2 separate regions of the Homo sapiens genome follow, and region 1 is linked to region 2. Evidence: promoter capture Hi-C in human tissues and cell types (Jung and others, 2019). All regions are on one chromosome and are shown on one strand. Each heading gives the region's core, a stretch centred on a gene start or on the middle of the fragment in contact. The rest is flanking DNA. Distances are from core to core; before and after follow the strand shown.

Region 1 (2,860 bases), core at 200-2,699, 400 kb before region 2:
CCAAACTGTTATGCCTCGGTCATTTAGAATACAGTAATGTCACATAAAGGATGTATGTTTGTGAGAAGGTTTGAGAGAACAAAATGGTTTGAGATTAGTTGTAGCTGAAGGGATGGTGAAACATCCTCATGTTTCTGGTGAGCAATTAGAAAATCAGTTCTGATGATCAGGAAAAGGTCAGAACTAAAACATAGACTTCACAAGTAATTGTATTAATTTGAAACAGATGGGCTCACCCAAGAAGAGAATAAGAAGCAAAGCTATTACTGTCCAAGGAGATGATAAAAAAAGAAGAAACTGTGAAGCAAATGAGAATGACTGATCAATGGAAATCAAGGAAAATAAGCTCTCTAATTTGAGTAGAAAAAAAGAATATCCATGCAGTGGAAAGCTTTTTGTATTTAGAGCATCTTCACAGCCTTCAGTACTTCTTCACCGGCATGAAAATAAATGTGAATGATTGTATTTGTCCCAGAAACCATAATATTGATGCATAAATTTTGATAATGGAAGTGAGCTCTTATTTTCATTTAAGTGAAAGGATTGAATATGGAAAGAGTGAGGGAGTGTGACAGAGACCGACAGAATGAGACAGAGGATTAAGAGGAAGAGAGGAAAGGAGAGGGGAAAATGGGAAGGTCAAGATAAGAGGTCATCAGAGTTTAAATAGAGTATTTTGGTATGAAGAACATCCATCCTCAGATTATGCGGCATCTTCTTAAACAAGCCACAGGTAGCATTATAGACACTCATAGAAGGTGACAATTATATGAATCCTCTTTTCAAGAAGACCATTTAAAGGAGTGAAAGGGATTATTTAAAACATCGTTAGTTGCAAGTTGTTTTGAGAAGCATAAGTTATATCAATATTTTACTAGTTATATTTTGAGGGACATAAATATAAAAATGGAGAGTATTCTATTATTTCCTGTAATTGTTCAGTAAACATTAAACATGTTTTTCTATTAGAATTTTTCACATAAAATTGAATCTGTATTACTATGGAAAGAACATTGGATTTATAATTTCCCTCCAATTATCAACTGAAAATACTCCAATATTTTCCCCAAATATCAGAACAAAGGTTTGACTTTACAACTTATTATTTAACAGTGCTTAATTAGCTTTTGTCTAATTACTGTCCCATGTGTTTGGGACTTTCTTCATTTGATAATATTAAATACTTTTTCAAATTCTCAGGTGATAGGAAAGCAAGAGCAGATCAAAGAGAAATGAGAGAGTATACCCAATATATACTTCCTGTGCCCTTCTTTCTTTTCTAATGCAAGCAATGGGAACATAGAAACTATTTGAATTTTAAACGACTGGATATAAAATTCTCCAATCCAATGAGGGCTGAAAATAATTTTTAGCTTCAAAATTTGCATTTAAAATGATAACAGTGAGTAATGATGTATTAGAGTTAAAGAAACACTTGTGACAGATATCTCCATTCGCTGATAAAGAATAAATGCTTCCACCAGATTTATAGTTAACAATGGAATGTACATTACAGCATATTATTTTAAGGCTATAATACCAAGACCAATCCTGAAGTTTTTTATTAGAGGAGAAGATAGAGGTATAGGAAATGGTATGTTCACTACTAATGTAGTTATGATCACACTTCAGATTTTTATGGTCACAGATGACACTACTAACCTACCATTCACAATTGGCAAAAAGAAAATTAAATAGCAGTATTTATGATGATTGGATCCACAGGCTAACAGTTTCATCACCATTTTCTTCTATGTGGTAGTGAAAGCTCTAGAACTCTAGACCTCTTAGCAACAGAGAGAACAGTTATTAAAGTGATTTAATTTGTATGTGGTGTGTTTAAGTTTCATTTTACAGTTGGAATGTCTTAAAGCTCTTTCTTTCAAGGGTTCCAAATAGCTAGAACTATGATTAGTGCAAAGAACTTCTCCCCTCAAATCTGCTTGCCAATAAATATCTTTTCAGTTTTAAAAGAACCTAATTTTCATAATCTTTTGATTATTTTTCATTCAACATTGTTAGATATCAGTGAGGTTTGGAAAAGGGATGAGAAAAATTTAGAAAAACTTGAATTTGGGTTTTGATGGTGCCTTTATGGAACATGTGGTGTGTTCTAAATATCTATTCTTAATTTAAAAAGAAAATAAAAGATTACTGGGACAGGTCTCCACATATTTGTTTCATAAAACAATTTTAAAAGATAACCTACATGTCTTAATTATTAGCACGGATTTAAAATACTGAGGGCTTATTGATGACCTAATGCCTTTCATTTTATAGAGAAGGAAATAGACCCCAGAAGCATATATACTGTGTTCACTTCCACCTGACTTGACCTTGAAATCTCAGATTTCAAATCCAGTATGAAAGCTTGCAGCATGCCTTAAAATCTTAGATTAAATGAATATTTCCCTTTATTATCTCAGGCATTTCAAATATTCAGTCATATCCCTTTGACAAAGGCCTTGCAAGAAATGGTCATTGTTGACAGGTGTTGCAATATTCTAGAAGTGATTCAGGTAACATTCTAGTTGGATCATGTGATGACTTATTCTGTTGATCATGGGGCACAAGATTATCAGAGCCATATTCCAAGGATGCCACTCCAAAAAGTGTTAGGATGTTAGAGTCTCCTTGCCAGTCCCATATCCCGCTCCCAAAAGTTGGGAGAGATCTTACTTATTCTCACCAATGCAAGTATCTTTAATAGTATTTATTTCACCATGGAAGACCATATTCAACATCATGCTACATTAAAATTTCTTTAGTTCAGATCAAGATGATACTTGCCTTCTCCTAGCTGCCTGAAAACAGTGGACCCATGGTTTGGGTTTCTAAATTGCTATCTAACTGCAACTGG
Region 2 (2,770 bases), core at 218-2,717:
CTTTATCTCAATATGTTAAACAGGAACTAGTTGAGAAAAAGGGGAAAGAAGAAATGAAGGAAGAAAAGGGAAGTGAGAAAGCTTTCTTAAAGGTCAGAAAGTTTTCTACATTGGGAGATTTAATTGTTTTATCTTTAGTATTTTGTAAAAATCCACTCACTTTAAGGGCAGGAGTTATTTTTCTCCCTTAAAACAAAGAGTATTGACAGAATATATTCACATTGGGGGGATTTTGTTCCATGATGTAATGGATTTGTGAAACAACATTAAAACAAAAAAGAAAACTAGAAAAATGCAAGTAGGGTTTGTAAACTATTAATTTCTTTTCCTCTCTCTTCTTCCTCCTTTCCTACACTCTGATCCCTGTCATAATATTTTTACAAACTCTGAGAAGAAAAAAAGTTTAAATTTATTCTCAGGGGCAAAAGATTACTAAAACACAAACTGTTACTCTTTTATATAGTTTCAGCAGCTTTAACATTTGAAAATGCAAATAGCCTTAAGTTAAAAAAAATCTAGTTGGTGTTTCAATTTTGTATATATCATTTTGATAATAAAATCATTTCTTTAGGCCAAATAAAGAAAAAACAAAGTTTCATGTTTATAAAACAATTGCCAAGCTACAGATACAACAGATATCTTCTCTTTATCCCTCTCTCTTCTCTTCCTCTCATCTCTTCCTGAGTCTCATCAAAGCACTCATGCCAAGAAACCACTTTATCCAGGGAAGGTGGCCACATAACCCAAGAAACAGCAATTGATCTACAAATGCTGACAGTGAGATACAAGCTCTGGAAAATGAACTGACCAAACTGGAAACAGCATGTTGAATAACTGGAAGGATTTTTCCTCTCAAATTCTAGGATTTCTTTTTTTCTTTTTCTTTAGACAGGGTCTCCCTCTGTCACTCAAGCTGGAGTGCAGTGGTGCTATCTCAGCTCACTGCAGTTTCTGCCTGCAGGGCCCAGGCGATCCTCCCACCTCAGCCTCCTGAGTAGCTGGGACTACAAGCATGTGCCACCATGCCCAGCTATTTGATATATATATATTTTTTTTTTTGTAGAGACAGCATTTCACTATATTGCCCAGGCTGGCCTCGAACTCCTGAGCTCAAGAGATTCTCCTGCCTGGAAATAACCTCTTTTATACTTAAAGCAAAGCTGAAAGCAAGAGTTCCTAGCCCAAGATGGCTAGCAGAAAGGAAGCAGCAGCTGTGCAGTTGGGGCGGGGCCCAATTCCTTCCCTGGCCGCCAGGGGGAGTCTACCCACAGCTGACTCTGCTCACCTTAAGCGCGCCACTTGGCGCAGGCGCTGAGGCGCCAGACGTCCCTGCGTCTCTGGTTGGGACGTCCTGAAAGAGAGTCGTCACATCCTCCTCAGGACTCTATGGTTCCGGCCTCAGGACTCTATGGTTCCCGCGAGGGACGAGGGGCAACGTATATAAATGCGCGCAGGCGTAGTTAAGAGAGCGCATTTTGACTTCGAGGCACCGCCGACGTTACTGTGTCGCCATGGGGCGCCGTCCAGCTCGCTGTTACCGGTATTGTAAGAACAAGCCGTACCCAAAATCTCGTTTCTGCCGAGGGGTTCCTGATGCCAAGATCCGCATCTTTGACCTGGGTAGAAAGAAGGCAAAAGTGGATGAGTTCCCACTCGGTGGCCACATGGTGTCTGATGAATATGAGCAGCTGTCTTCTGAAGCCCTGGAGGCCGCCCGTATTTGTGCCAACAAATACATGGTGAAAAGTTGTGGCAGAGATGGCTTTCACATGCGAGTGCGGCTCCATCCCTTCCATGTCATCCGCATCAACAAGATGTTGTCCTGTGCTGGGGCTGACAGGCTCCAGACAGGTATGCGAGGTGCCTTTGGAAAACCCCAGGGTACTGTAGCCCGGGTCCACATTGGTCAAGTCATCATGTCCATCCGCACCAAGCTTCAGAACGAGGAGCATGTGATTGAAGCCTTGCGCAGGGCCAAGTTCAAGTTCCCTGGACGCCAGAAGATTCATATCTCCAAGAAGTGGGGCTTCACGAAGTTTAATGCTGACGAATTTGAAGACATGGTGGCCAAGAAGTGCCTCATCCCTGATGGTTGTGGAGTCAAGTACGTTCCCAGTCATGGCCCCTTGGACAAGTGGCGGGTTCTGCACTCATGAAGGTTTTGGCAGTACTGTCTCCTTGGGCCATGCTGGTCTGACTTATGCTTACTAATAAATTCTGTTTACTGGCAAAAAATAACTCCTTATTAAGTTTTAATATTTTTTAAATATCCAATGTTTTAGAATATAGACTACTAGAGAATTTTTTTCTATTTATTCAGTTTTAATGGCAAATGTTACCTTCCTTGCTTCAGTAAAACTATACAATTTATAGAGAAAGCTGTTTTAAGCAAACACTTTAAATTTAGGAGAGTATAGAGCAATATGTTGAAAGTTTTGTTTGTAGTAAAGTCATAAGTTATGCAGCTATCATTCCTTGAATAAAAAATAGATTTGAGTGAAAAAATTTGTTTATAGAATATAAACTAAACAGTAGCGATGAAAATAATAGTAGGCATTAGTGATATTTCACCCACAGCCTCTTTGGAAGTAATTTATTTCTAAACTTGGTTGCCTTATGTTTTTCTATAAATTTCTGTACATTGTTTTTAGAATTACCTTACACGTCTGATTATCAGCCTTAGGACAATTGAGTATCACTCTGAAAGGCTTTTCCAGACGAACTTTACATTGTCTCACAGTCAAGAGATAACAGTCTAATCTTTTTTTCA

The links. The method cuts DNA at HindIII sites, captures the fragments that hold promoters and counts their contacts. A contact is called where the count stands out against the background at its distance.
Region 1: a contact is called between a fragment that was not itself captured here and the fragment with the promoter of RPL10L in region 2, in 2 of the 25 tissues and cell types used here (dorsolateral prefrontal cortex and spleen).

Annotation. Positions count from the first base shown.
Region 1 is chr14:47,050,643-47,053,502 of GRCh38, reverse strand. All of the region lies in intron 7 of MDGA2 (MAM domain containing glycosylphosphatidylinositol anchor 2), which reads left to right. Among named protein-coding and RNA genes, the nearest start is that of RPL10L, 400 kb to the right of the region's middle. The HindIII fragment of the contact is 3,925 bases long and covers 1-2,860 here.
Region 2 is chr14:46,650,478-46,653,247 of GRCh38, reverse strand. It overlaps RPL10L (ribosomal protein L10 like), which reads left to right and starts at 1,467. Exons shown (of 1, transcript NM_080746.3): 1 at 1,467-2,238. The coding sequence starts at 1,512. The coding sequence ends at 2,156. The region is part of intron 3 of LOC105370481 (a long non-coding RNA gene); the gene reads left to right. The HindIII fragment of the contact is 6,030 bases long and covers 1-2,770 here.